Linked DNA regions of Homo sapiens: regions 2, 3 and 4 are each linked to region 1. The links are contacts of gene promoters, found by promoter capture Hi-C in blood cells and fetal thymus (Javierre and others, 2016). All regions are on one chromosome and are shown on one strand. Each heading gives the region's core, a stretch centred on a gene start or on the middle of the fragment in contact. The rest is flanking DNA. Distances are from core to core; before and after follow the strand shown. Region 1 holds the start of POP4 (POP4 ribonuclease P/MRP subunit). Region 2 overlaps ZNF507 (zinc finger protein 507). Region 3 overlaps PDCD5 (programmed cell death 5). Region 4 overlaps DPY19L3 (dpy-19 like C-mannosyltransferase 3).

Evidence for each region. Contacts are between HindIII fragments. The CHiCAGO score rates a contact against its expected background, and 5 or more counts as called.
Region 2: a contact is called between a fragment that was not itself captured here and the fragment with the promoter of POP4 in region 1, in 1 of 17 cell types (erythroblasts). The highest score is 5.7, in erythroblasts.
Region 3: a fragment that was not itself captured here is called in contact with the fragment with the promoter of POP4 in region 1 in 1 of 17 cell types (total B cells); the score reaches 7.5 in total B cells.
Region 4: a fragment that was not itself captured here is called in contact with the fragment with the promoter of POP4 in region 1 in 1 of 17 cell types (monocytes); the score reaches 5.7 in monocytes.

What each region holds. Positions count from the first base shown.
Region 1 is chr19:29,604,078-29,607,625 of GRCh38, forward strand. POP4 (POP4 ribonuclease P/MRP subunit) reads left to right here and starts at 2,206. Exons shown (of 7, transcript NM_006627.3): 1 at 2,206-2,248. The coding sequence starts at 2,242. RefSeq lists an enhancer at 1,859-2,348. The HindIII fragment of the contact is 1,017 bases long and covers 1,632-2,648 here.
Region 2 is chr19:32,357,696-32,361,021 of GRCh38, forward strand. ZNF507 (zinc finger protein 507) reads left to right here. Exons shown (of 7, transcript NM_001136156.2): 5 at 2,809-2,923. Among named protein-coding and RNA genes, the nearest start is that of ZNF507, 14 kb to the left of the region's middle. The HindIII fragment of the contact is 197 bases long and covers 1,723-1,919 here.
Region 3 is chr19:32,584,434-32,587,918 of GRCh38, forward strand. It overlaps PDCD5 (programmed cell death 5), which reads left to right. Exons shown (of 6, transcript NM_004708.4): 3 at 517-578; 4 at 1,383-1,474; 5 at 2,425-2,496; 6 at 2,820-3,020. The coding sequence ends at 2,867. Among named protein-coding and RNA genes, the nearest start is that of PDCD5, 5.0 kb to the left of the region's middle. The HindIII fragment of the contact is 197 bases long and covers 1,281-1,477 here.
Region 4 is chr19:32,408,154-32,411,398 of GRCh38, forward strand. It overlaps DPY19L3 (dpy-19 like C-mannosyltransferase 3), which reads left to right. Exons shown (of 19, transcript NM_001172774.2): 2 at 64-203; 3 at 3,086-3,219. The coding sequence starts at 101. Among named protein-coding and RNA genes, the nearest start is that of DPY19L3, 4.0 kb to the left of the region's middle. The HindIII fragment of the contact is 693 bases long and covers 1,507-2,199 here.

The DNA.
Region 1 (3,548 bases), core at 956-3,455:
TTTGGGAGGCCGAGGCGGGTGGATCATGAGATCAGGAGTTCGAGACCAACCTGACCAACATGGTAAAACCCTGTCTCTACTAAAAATACAAAAATTAGCTGGGCGTGGTGGTGTGTGCCTGTAATCTCAGCTACTCAGGAGGCTGAGGCAGGAGAATCACTTCAACCTAGGAGGCAGAGGTTGCAGTGAGCCGAGATCACACCATTGCACTCCAGCCTGGACAACACAGCAAGACTCCGTCTCAAAAAAAAAAATATTTTAATGATGAAGGAACTATGTTGTAATTGCAACTCAAGGACGACCCACCCCACCACCATCAGGGAATTCGAGGGGAGACTGGCAGTTATCCAGGGATCCCAGAAGGAGTCAACTGGGAGTTAAGAGTCCTAACAACCCTAGAAAAAAACTTTCAAAGACACAGGTCTTCTCATTAATCTCCATAATCACAGAGGTCTTGCCTAAAAGGGCCCCCCTTGAGTACACAGCTCTGAAACTGGCTAACATCTTCTGCTGTCTCATTTGATTTTAAAGTTCACATTTGTGAAGGGCTCTATTGTACAACATGGTGACTATAGTTAATAACAGTGAATTTCAGTTAATAACCTGAATTTCACTGAGAGTAGGTCTGAAGTGTTCTCATCACAAAATGAGTGTATTAGCATCGCTCATAGCTCATTTAGCCATTACACAATGTATACACATTTCAAACCATATTGTATACCATAAATACATACAATTCTTATTGGTTAATTTTAAAAATAATAAAAGTTCTCTATCAGTCCCATAAATTACAATTTTCAGGCATCTGCAAAGGCAGCATGTTTTGGTTTAAATGTGGTCTTTCCAAATTTTATACGTATAAAATAAATGCATAAGTGTACTACATATGCAAAAACTAATACATAAATTTTATAAAGTCAATGCACGCGGGGTCACTGGGATGAACCAATTTCAGTGCCTGCAGTCTAATGTTTAAAATCAAAATGGTACAAGGTCACCACCAAAGAAATTGTTTAAGCCAATGTTTCTCAAACTAAAACCTTTGGACATACTCCCAGAATCCCCTGTAAAGAAATGTATACTGTACTCAAAGTTGAGAACCACTGACTTAGCATAAAGGGACCGTATTTCTTTTCTCTCCCACCCAGCACAGGCCCAGTGCTCAGCAGAAATTGGGGCTCCACAGTTCTGCCCAACACTGGGTCACTGCTGAGAAGTCTGCACCAGGCCTTCCTGCACCTTTCCACTGAGCAATGGAGTTTGTTTATTCATTTATTTATTTATATGGAATTTATTTATTTATTTTGGAGACAGGGTCTCACTCTGTCACCCAGGCTGGAGTGCAGTAGCGCAATCCAGGTTCACTGCAGCCCTAAACTCCTTGGGCTCAACTGATCCTCCCACCTCAGATACCCGAGTAGTTGGGACTACAAGCACGCACCACCACGCCTGGATAATTTTTTTTAAATGTTTTGTAGAGATGGGGTCTCCCGATGTTGCCCAGGCTGGTCTCGAACTCCTGGGCTCAAGAGATCCTCCCGCCTGCGCCTCCCACGGTGTGAGCCACCTTTGATCTTATTGCTATGATTTTTTTATTGATAAAAACTAATAAATATTCTGAGTCTCAAGAAAGCTTTCTGAAACTATCAAAGGGACCCAGGCGGCGCATCACTACCTGTGAGGCCGACCCCACTCACAGCACAGACTGCAAGTGAGGCTTACAGATGGGAAGTGCCCTAAGCGAGGTTAAACAGCTAGTTAGCAGCAGACACGGAACTAGAACCTAAGCCTGCTGTCCCAGCTTCGGTGCCCGTGCTCACAGCGGAAGCTGCCTCGGCTCATCCGTAAGGGCGCTGATTAGGGACGACAAAGACCTCACCCCACCGTCCCCGTCCCATTTCCGCCCTCCCAGATCCCCAACCTCCTTCGAGTCCTCTCCAAGTCGCCTCGCCTCGCTCCACTCCAGGCCTTAGCAAGCATTCCACATGCCTTTACCCCAACCCTACTGCCTGTCCCCCAAAAGATGCAGGCGGAAAAGACCCCAGGAAGCGAGCCCACTCCTCCCCACTGCTCAGCAACACCGCCTACGACGTTCTCAGTAGCCGAATCCCTTTCCAGGCGCATGCGCCCCCGAGGTGGGCGAGCGCCGGTGATGTCACGCATAGCGCCATCTCCGAGCTCCGAGAGTCTGCGACAGCAGCTGCCAGTGCGTCATCAGAGAGCGCCGGAAGCGGTCCGAGAATGAAGAGTAAGCGGGGCCGCGAAGTTGGAGAGGGTTGGGGACGTTAAGGGTCGGGGTCTTGGTACTGGTGGGTGAAATGGGTCCGGGCTACCTGTTGCTGCGGAGTCCTAACAGAACCGCTACAGGAATGGGCCCACCCTACCTAAGAAAAACTGAGGGCTGGAGCACGGGTTAGCCTGGCTCGACCTCTGAGCTAGGGAGGGATGTCAGGGCTGGAGGCAGGTTCTCCCGGAGGCTGCTCAGTGGTGTGCGATGCTAGAGGAGGGTTCCAGGCCTTGGCTCAACTTGGCCACTATCTCCCGGGGTGACCGCGGTCAAGATCCTGCTCCTTTCTGCGAGCTGGTTTCACACTCTTAACCTGATGCAAAGCGCCGAGAGCTGCTGGGGAATGATATCACTAACCCAAAGCTTTGGTCCTTAGGGGTAGAAGACATGTGCCAAGGAGGGGCGTGTAGACACCGTTAAGACTGGGCCTTCAATCAGAATTTTTATTTTTCATCTCTGCCACTTTCTACCTATATGATCAAGTAGATTGTCTCGGCATGTCTGAGCTTCAGTTTGCTCATGCACATAAGTGTAATGAGAAAAAATATGTGTACCTTGTAATGAGGTTTCTGGCAAGTAATGGATGTTCAGTAATTGTTAGATGTGTATTGTTGCAGAAAGACTTCCAAGTCTGTTACTAAGCACCTGTAACAGATGAAGCAAAGTTATCAGGCCCCGCAAGTTGCTCTCTACAGTTTATAATCCCCATCTTCCATTTGAGGGAGAACTAGATGCTATATATAAAACTTGCAACCACATTGGTTTGCTTGATCAAACAAACATACCTGGCTGGGTGTGGTGGGACACGCCTGTGGTCCCAGCACTTTGGGAGGCTGAGGCAGGGGGATCACTTGAGGCCAAGAGTTGAAGACCAACTTGGGCAACAACATAGCGAGACCCTGTCTCTACAAAAACTGGAAAAAAAAAAAAAGAATTAGCCAGGTGTGGTGGCACACACCTGTAGTCTCAGCTACTCAGGAGACTGAGGTGGGAGGATCACTTGAAACCAGGAGGTCGAAGTTGCAGTGAGCTATGATTGTGCCACTGCACTCCAGCCAGGGCAACAGAGCAAAACCCAGTATCAAAACAAACAAACAAACAACAAAAAAAAAAAACTTGTAACCACCTTGCATCAAACATTCTCAGGGAAGTACAAGAAAGCTGGAATTAAATTTACAGAGTATAGTGTAAATTACATTTTCTAGCTATTTAGCTCATAAACCAGGCCTTAGTAGTCCCATTCTTATTCCATTCACACCTG
Region 2 (3,326 bases), core at 571-3,070, 2.8 Mb after region 1:
GCTGAGCTAAAACAGTTTTGTTTCCTTTTTACAAAATAGCCCTAAATGCCTCCTTTTATTTTAATTCATTATGTTTCCATATCCCCTTTAAAGGAGACATTAAAACGTCTGATATGATTGGACCATAAATCCCTAATGAAAGGATGAAGTAAATACTACTCAGTAGCACCACCTGCAGTTAATATCAGTGTTGGAAGATGTCTTTTTTAGCACCGTCCTAAAAAGCAAACATTTCAAACTGTCCAAATGAGTTAACATTAAAATTCACAATTTTAATAAAAAGATTAAAGTGTCAGCTCAAAATTAAAATAACCACTTCAGACTTTACAGTATTAATGAATGTTTACTAGATTTTATGTTGCAGCATCTTTTCTTTGTGGCTCATGCTTTTTTTTTAGGGTTACATGCATGGATTTTTAAATTGCCTGCCATGCCTCTTTTCCTCCACCTGGCTCCATTTGCTTTTTTCTCTCAGTACTGTAGCAGTTCAAATGGCTGCATACTTATACCTGGATGGGTACTTTATTAACTCAATATTAGATATTTTGAAATCTGGTTGTCAGGCCAAAGAAAAAATTTTTAGCTCACAAATAAGGTAATAATAATTCATGCTTTGTTAAAACTTCTTTACCTATTTAGTAAACTTGTTAAACAAGAAGAGAGATTTGTGCCTCTGTGATCCTCAGTCTCTGCCATTCAGATAGCACAGATACCTTAGGGCATGTTTCAGCTTAACATTTGCTTGGCCAAAAGGCATGGCCTGCCTGTCTTGAGCTAGATACTGTGTTAGGTGCTGGGAGTACAGTGAAAGGCATCACTGCCCTTCAGGAATCCAACTCAGTGAAGAAGACAGAACGAGGCTGATGGGTATGTCAGCAGATACCGCAGGAGCTCAAATAGAGCCGCAAGCAAAGCCCTTTCGTATGGTGTTACTCCATGAAACCTAATTAAATTGTTTTTTATTGGAAACCTATAATTTGCCAAGCGCTGGGGATTCAGTCTAAACAAAACAAGCAGATCCTTATCCTCAGGGAATAGACAGCTTAGTGGCAGGGCAGAGATTTTACCCAGACATGCAGGTAAAGTACAGACTTTGCTAAAGGAAAAATATAGGACTTACTAAACTATGCTGTGAGGTTCTAGCATTTCCAATTTGTAGATGAGAAAACTGAGACTTCAAGAGGCAAAATAATTTACCCATGATCATACTGGTAGAAAGTGGCAGAGCGAGGACTAAGCCCAAGTTTTTGAACTTTAAATCCAATATTCTTTCCATTGGAAACAGTTGCTTGAAGTAGCACAGGCTCTCATTCTGTGCTATATTAAGTTTTTCCATCTGTCAGTTTTATTAGTTGTCATTGATCTGTAATATTTCTCACACAAAACCATTATCCAATATTTCACACTTCATTTTTTAGGGTTTTTTTAAAACTGTATTTGGAACAGTGCCATTTATAATCAAGTCCAAGTTTTTAACCTACCAATTAAGAGCAATACTTAGATTATAATTATGATTAGTGTGTATATTAACGTTATAGATTTATACCAGGAAATTAGGACATTTTGTTCTGCTTGGCAGTAGTTATTAGCAAAAGAAAATTTCAATTTTAGAAACCGTAAATTTAACTTAAGGATTTTCTTTGTTGAAATTTCAGTGTGGGTTTTCCTTTGTATAATACCACGGATTTTACTTTTATGCGGTGTATACAGGTGTTCTACCTAAGCTTTCTTCCTGCCAAGAGACACACAGTTCTTCCTGCTCTGCCTTTTTCATGAGCTTCCATGCTTGCTTTGTTTCTGAATATAAAGCAGAGTGTGAATAGCCTGTGGACTGTATGCTGACAGACAAGTACATGAAGCGTTGAATATCTTCAAGAAATCGTTTTATATGATCAAGTCACTCAACTCGTGTTGACATAAGCTTACCCCAACTTGAATTACTCAGCCCTGTTGTTGCAGAGTGAGTTTAGTAACATGGCTACTTTTCGTTGGATCCATGTCTCCTGCGTTTCGGAGAGCTGCATATTCATGTCAGTCATAACCTTTGTCCCTGTAACCTGTCAGTTAACTAGAAAGAATTATACATTGCATAGCACTTAAAAATTTGCGGCCGCTTTTCCTTTCTTGTTGCGTTGGTAGCTGACGTTTAGTGGTAAACAAAGAAAATGCACTGGGTGAAAAGGCCTTAGGCTTTTTTTTTGTAGGGTGAGAGTGGGGGAGAGATCTCTTGCTCTGTTGCCCAGGCTGGTCTCCAGCTCCTGGCCTCCGGCAGTCCTCCCACCTCAGCCTCCCAGAGTACTAGGATTATGGGCATGAGCCACCACACCTAGCCAGGCTTTTTATATTGAGTTGGTTATATATGCTTCATAGCCACACTTTATAATATTGGAGTATAGTATTAAATTACAGCTTGTTGTCAAGTCAGTGTTTCTGTAAGACAGTATATCCAATATTGGTTAGAGTAACACCTATTTGGTGATACAGATCAACAGGGTGTCTCTGATTAATTTAGCTCCTACATAGCCAGAAGCAAGTTCATTATGACTTAGAATATTGTACATGGTTATGCAGGAATCATCCCAACCTATCTGTGTTTATAGGTCAGATGATGTTCAGTTTATATCTGCTGATAGTGTATATGCAGGAAAACCTATAAAACCACTTCAGACTTGTTAAAACAGTGAGAAAGCCGTGATTGAAATATTAATACAACTGTGTGGTATAAATTTTCATTTACAATGGAATGTAAATGCTGTCATTTGAATCTTGTCAAAGCCTGCTACTAAAACTCTGAAATACCTTGTCTAGGGAATAAGTCTTCAGTCCAGAAACAATATAGATGTGATGTGTGTGATTATACAAGTACAACATATGTTGGTGTCAGAAACCACAGGCGAATCCATAACTCTGATAAGCCGTACAGGTAAGTGTTATGATTCTAGAATTTTAATGTTTGTATTAAAATATTTTATATTAAAGAAATAAAATGAAATAAAAATGTATAGCACTTACTGAAACACAGGTTAAGAAGTAAGAAATTTTCACTAATTGGTTTTATATTTTGTTGTTTTATATATTTACTTATTTATTTTTTGAGTCAGTGTCTTGCTGTATTGCCCAGGCTGGAGTGCAGTGGTATGATCACAGCTCACTGCAGCCTCGAACTCCTGGCCTCAAGGGATCCTCCCACATCAGCCTCCCAAAGTGCTGGGATTGCAGGCGTGAGCCACTGCACCTGGCTGGTATTATGTCTTGTTTGATTTGTTAAGATGTGAACTTTAAGCTTGAATCTTAGGACAGTAGGCATTTTGTCTAGTTGATACATA
Region 3 (3,485 bases), core at 129-2,628, 3.0 Mb after region 1:
CAAAGTTATAATTTCATTCCCCTTCCCCACCCAGAAAAATAGAACTGAGAGTCTTAAAACATGGAATCTGGCTGTAGCTTGGCCACAGTTACCTATGTCTCTTTAGCATAGCCTCCTGGATCTCAGCTTTATCTCTAAGAAAATGATATAGATTAGTCACATGGTCCTTCTAATTGCCTGAAATCCCACTATAAATTTCTAGCACCTGTCACGCAATAGGTACTTAAGAAATGTTGGTGATGGTGTTTGAACTGAGGCTCCACTCTGATGAAACTGTAAAGCTCACCTTCCAGCCTGGTAGGTTGTCACCTGTGTAATATAAAGCTGGTTCTTTGAGGGCAAAAGGGGATTCTACTTGAATGTAGCTGCAGCCTTATGTACAGCAACTACCATAATGCAGTTTGTATACCGCAGGCCCCATGTGGAGACACATACTGGATGGGTTCTTTCTCGTATGTTACATGGGAATGCCGACAGCTGTGTTTTAATTGTGTTTGACCTATGTTTTCGTTGTAGGGAAGCAGAAATGAGAAACAGTATCTTAGCCCAAGTTCTGGATCAGTCGGCCCGGGCCAGGTGTAAGCATCTTTGATTTCATTTCCATAAAGTTAGCTTGAGTTAGTTGAATGGGGTGATTAGATACCATTATTGCTATCACTAGATGAAATATTTGCTTAGGCTGAAAACACTTGAGATGTGTAAGAAGTGTGAAGTTTATAAACCTAGAGAACTGTACTTTAATCCCTAGTAAAAGTACCAGGTCACTTCTCTTACCAAGATGTTCTCCAGGTGTGTATTAGGTAAGATTTATAGGAAACAACTCATAGGGCCAATCACAAAATGTTGCTGGTAGTTGACATTTTGTGTCAACTGGTGATGGGGACTGGGGATGGGGGACTTAGGGGCTTTTTATATGTATTGTCAGTTTTAGTGTATGTTCAGAGTTGTTCATCATAAAAACCAAAACCTGTAGAAAGAAAAAATGAGACAGTCAGAATGAACTGGTATTTTCTGTATTTTAACTGGAAGCCCAGTTTGAGTGTAGAAAAGGCGGCCACAGGTGGATCACCACCATTATGTGTAATAGATAAACCGCTTTCCAGAGGGCAGTCATATATTTTAAGAAACAGGAAGCATGGTGCTTAGAATCTGAGAACCCAACTTTAATCTTGGCTGGGCCACTACCCCCATGTGCCCATGTGGAGATTGGCATGGGTGAACTTCAGTTTTCTCATTTTTAAGAGGAGTAACAATACTGTCTTGCCCTACACTGAGGGACAAGCTTGTGAAGTGCTTTGGAAAGGTCAATGCATAGTTTTAAGGTATAACATAAGTGCATTTGATTTTAATGGATTTTTTGCATATGTATTTTTTCTTTTTAGTAAGTAACTTAGCACTTGTAAAGCCTGAAAAAACTAAAGCAGTAGAGAATTACCTTATACAGATGGCAAGATATGGACAACTAAGTGAGAAGGTAAGCTTAGACAGCCTTGAGGAACTTTACTGTTACCTGCTTTATCAAAACATGGCTTCAAAAGGTCAGCTGCATCTTCACTGGATTACAGAATTCTTGCTGACTCTCAGAAGAAATTGTTGGAGAGAATAGTCATACCTACTTTAAAAGAGAATAAATTGCCTTTCCTAAATTCCTCTGCTTCGCTCCTTTCCTGGCGTTGCTCTGGAACCTTGTTGGTGTCTGTGACCCAATGACTGTTAGGGTCAGCTAGCTTCAATTGCCCCTGCACTGGAAGCAAGGTTTGTCAGTAACACCAATTAAAATACTACCAGTGTAAGTAGAAGGTGTGTTTTGCAGATGAGAAGGTGCTAAGATGCCTTGCTTATGTTCTCTGTGTTGCTGTAATACCATGAGGGGTATGTTGTGGCAAACCTGGCCTTTGAGATCAAGACGAACCCCACCTGCCCTGAGAAGCCGTCTGCTACCACCACAGCCTACCCGAATTGGTCCTGTCCCCTAAACCCCTCACACTGAGAACTGCTTGTGTGGGAGAGAGCTGGTTGGGTTGATCTTTTCCGAGTGTGACTTACCTCCTTCAAGGGGATGTTTAAGCTTCTCGGGCAGAAGTGGTGTGTCTATTCCTGACACCAAACACCGTGGTATATGTGGTTGTCACACTCAGCTAGTGATGATAAAGGTGTTCTTAAATATGTTAGCTTTCAGTTTTCCTGAGGAAGCAATTTTATGGATACTTCCCCCTCCTTCTCAAGTGAGGAATAGCAGAGCAAATTTTATTTGGAACTTAAACCAATAGTTATAACCAATAGTTTCAACCTCCTGCCTCACCACTGCTTCCTTCCTGAGCTCTTTCCCCACACCTCAAAAAGAGTACAAAGTGATTCCATCTGCAGAGGTAAATTCTTTGTTTAAAAAAGTACTGTTTTTCTTATCTTTTCTGGTTCTCCTAGGTATCAGAACAAGGTTTAATAGAAATCCTTAAAAAAGTAAGCCAACAAACAGAAAAGACAACAACAGTGAAAGTAAGTGTCCCCAGATGCTTGTGGCAAATGAAAAGATGGATACTTTAAAGATTAATGTTGAGTATACATCTACCACACATATTTTTCAGCCCAGAGACATTTTCCTTTTGTCAAACACGTGAAAGTTTGGGGAGAAAGGCTGAATCTGTTGGGGGAGGGTTCTAATTTTTATAGGCTCTTGACTCCATTCCCACCCTTTTAGTTCACGCTAAGTTGCTTTAAAGACACAAATGTCTTGCTAAAATTGGTAGAAATCTTTTCTCGGAAAATCTGAGTTATGCTTTATTAGAAATGTTCTGACACTCATTTAATTTTCCTCCCAGTTCAACAGAAGAAAAGTAATGGACTCTGATGAAGATGACGATTATTGAACTACAAGTGCTCACAGACTAGAACTTAACGGAACAAGTCTAGGACAGAAGTTAAGATCTGATTATTTACTTTGTTTATTGTCTATATGCCTTTTAAAAAAATAAACTTGTTATGCAAAATAAAACATTTGGGTAAGTTGTTTTAGTATCATAGCCAAGTGGCCAGATCTGTGTTTTGAATTTTTCCCCTTCCTACCAAAAGCTTTTTTTATTTTTATTTTTGTTATTATACTTTAAGTTTTAGGGTACATGTGCACAATGTGCAGGTTAGTTACATATGTATACATGTGCCATGCTGGTGCGCTGCACCCACTAACTTGTCATCTAGCATTAGGTATATCTCCCAATGCTATCCCTCCCCCCTCCCCCCACCCCACAAGAGTCCCCAGAGTGTGATGTTCCCCTTCCTGTGTCCATGTGTTCTCATTGTTCAGTTCCCACCTATGAGTGAGAATATGCGGTGTTTGGTTTTTTGTTCTTGCGATAGTTTACTGAGAATGATGATTTCCAATTTCATCCATGTCCCTACAAAGGACATGAACTCATCATTTTTTATGGCTGCATAGTATTCCATGGTGTATATGTGCCACATTTTCTTAATCCAGTCTATCATTGTGG
Region 4 (3,245 bases), core at 603-3,102, 2.8 Mb after region 1:
GATGAGCACGGGGTGTGTTGGGGAGAAGGCACTGACGTTGATGGCCTGTTTATTGCTATCTAGGAGTGATTTGGAGAACAATGCATGTAAGTCTGACATCATGATGTCCATCCGGCAAAGAAGAGAAATAAGAGCCACAGAAGTTTCTGAAGACTTTCCAGCCCAAGAAGAAAATGTGAAGTTGGAAAATAAATTGCCATCTGGTAGGTGATTTAAACTAAAGCAGCAATTTGGGTTGCTTTTATTTCTGCATATTAAAATGTCACTCTCCAATAGGATAAAAATTTGGTGGGACCTAACAATTGAAACTTGTTGTAGTACCCTGATATTCTAATTGCAATTTGATTAGATTGATTTTACAGTTATGATTTGACAAAAGATGAAAGAGCTTTGATTAGAAGTGTTTGTCAGCTGTCTGTTCATTAACTTACGGTTCTTCCAATCTCATCCTTTGACTCTCTAGAGTAATGGTCCCCCCACCCACACCCCAGATTTTAGTCTCTCTCTAATTTTTCTGGTCGTGTATACTATTTACACCAGGCAACCTTACCTTGGGTGAGTTTCCATTAAGGTAGTGAAAGGTGGATCAACATTTTTTAAAAATTCTTTATAATTAGTCAAATTCCTGAAGTTTTCTTTTGCTTTTTTTTTTTTTTCTTTTATTGGTGGGAAAAGTAATCAGAACTTGGTCAGTTGTTTGTATAATGGTAAAGACTTGCTAAGTGATGCATCAGATAGCATTAATTACCAACTTCTTGCTTCCTGAGTAGCTTTTGTAACTAAAGCATGGTCAGGATTTTAAAAGTTAACATGAAAATCTTCATACCCATTAACCATTTTGGATATCTGACAGAATTTACATTATTTACAGCCATGTTAATTCTTACCAGCCAGGCTAGTAAAGCAATTCAGGGAAACAGTTTAACAAAAGTAATCTGTAATGGGAGGTCATGACACCTGGCTCAGCCATTAGCGAGTGATTAACACGTTTTGGATAATAGTACTTTCTGAACACCTTAAACAATGCAAAGAAAAAGAAATATACTCCCATCCTGAAACTAACACCAGTGGCACTGTCTTGCTGTCTTAATGTCATATTCTGCACATGTATACCCATAAGCATTCGTATACAGTTTTGCAAAATTGGGATCCACGTGCTGTTTTGTAGCTTGCTATTTTTCTCTTATTATGTTATGAACATGTCATAAGCCAGTTAACGTATTTTTGAAATATCATCTATGTAAAGTATTTTTATAGCTGCCACTGTAGAAGTGAAAGGTTTTCTTACCATTTGCTAATACAGACAGAACTGTGATCAATTTCCTTGTGGCCATATGTTTGTTTAAAACTTTATTTCCTTGGGGCATGTCTTAGTCCATTTCTGTTGCTATAAAGGAATACTTGAGGCTAGGTGATTTATAAAGAAAAGAGGTTTCTTTGCCTCAGGGTTCTGCAGACTGTATGAGAAGCATGGCACCAGCATCTGCCTCTAGTGAGACCTCAGGAAGCTTCCAGTCGTGGCAGAAGACTTAGGGGAGCCAGTGTGTAGAGATCACATGACCAGAGTAGAAGCAATTTCCAGGGAACACAGGATGTCAGGCTCTTTTTTAACCAACCAGCTCCCCTAGGACTAACAGAATGAAAACTCAGTACTGCTAGAATCTCACCAACCTGTTTATAAGGGCTCTGGTTCCATCACCACACCACCTCCCATTAGGCCCCACCTCCAACATTGGGAATCACATTTCATCATGAGATTTGGAGGGGCCGAATAGTCAAACCACAGCAGGGTACATGCCTAGATTGGGAATTACTGGCCAAATGGGATGCTCATTTTGGTGGCTTTTACTCACTGCTGCCATGTTGCATTCCAGAGAGGCACCAATTTATTCTTCTAGCAGCAATGTTTGAAGATGTCTATTTTTTATACCCTTACCAAAACAGTATTAGCATTTTGAAAGCTGTCAAATTGGCCAAGATTTAAGTATAACTCACAGTTTTGATTTGCATTTCTTTAACATTAATGAATTTAAACATCTTCAGTCTGTTATTATTATTGGCCACTTTTTTCTATTGTACATTGCCTGTTCATGTCCTTAATCTTTTTCCTACTGCAGTATTCATCTTGACAGGACAATAAATTGTCCTGAAATAAAATAAATTGTCCTGAAAGTATTCATCTTATGTTAAGGGTATTTAAGCTTTCTTATATGTGCTATCCATATTTTGCCTAGTTTATATGTCCTTTAACTTGAGTTATGTTGGATTATTTATTCTGTGGGTTTTTCCCCCCAGAGCATTCCTGCAAAACCTGTGGGTTTAAAAAAAAAGTTTTAGGTAATCGGCCAGGTGCAGTGGCTCATGCCCGTAATCCCAGCACTTTAGGATCCCAGCTTGGGTGGGTGAATCACTTGAGGTCAGGAGTTCAAGACCAGCCTGGCCAACATGGTGAAACCCTGTATCTACTAAAAATACAAAAATTAGCCAGGCATGGTGGCATGTGCCTGTAGTCCCAGCTACTCAGGAGGCTGAGGTGGGAGAATTGCTTGAACCTAGGAGGCAGAGGTTGCAGTGAACCGAGATTGCACTACTGCATTCCATCTTGGGCAACAGAACAAGATCCTGTCTCAAAAAACAATAATTATTTTTTAGGTAATCAAGTTTTTAAAATAGCTTTTAAAGAATAAGCCACCAATTGTACCTAGATTATCTAAAAGATCGATTACGTCCTAGACACGTAACACATTTAGTCATCCATTTAACAGACTTCATAGTTAAATTACGGTTGTTAAACTGTGCCGGACAGAGGCCCTCAGTATTAAACATGAATAAGATAATGTATTTGTCTTCAAGAAGCTCACGTTGTAGTTGGCAGAATGGACACATGGACAGTTAGATACGGGGTAACAGTTGTAATAGAATGAAAACAGGTCTGTGGAATCAGAAAGGACCCTCCGCTGGAGACAGGAAAAGCTTTCCCAGTGACAGGCAGCTAGACTTAGCTTACTTGATAATCTGAAGTAGAACTATTACATTCTGATTTTTTTACTGACTTAGTTATTTATCTGTTCCATTTTTCCAAAAGGTTGTACCAGTAGAAGATTATGGAAGATTTTGTCATTGACAATTGGTGGAACCATTGCCCTTTGCATTGGACTTCTTACATCTGTCTACCTTGCCACGTTACATGAAAATGATTTATGGTTTTCTAATATTAAGGTATGGAGTTTCTTTGACCATTGTAT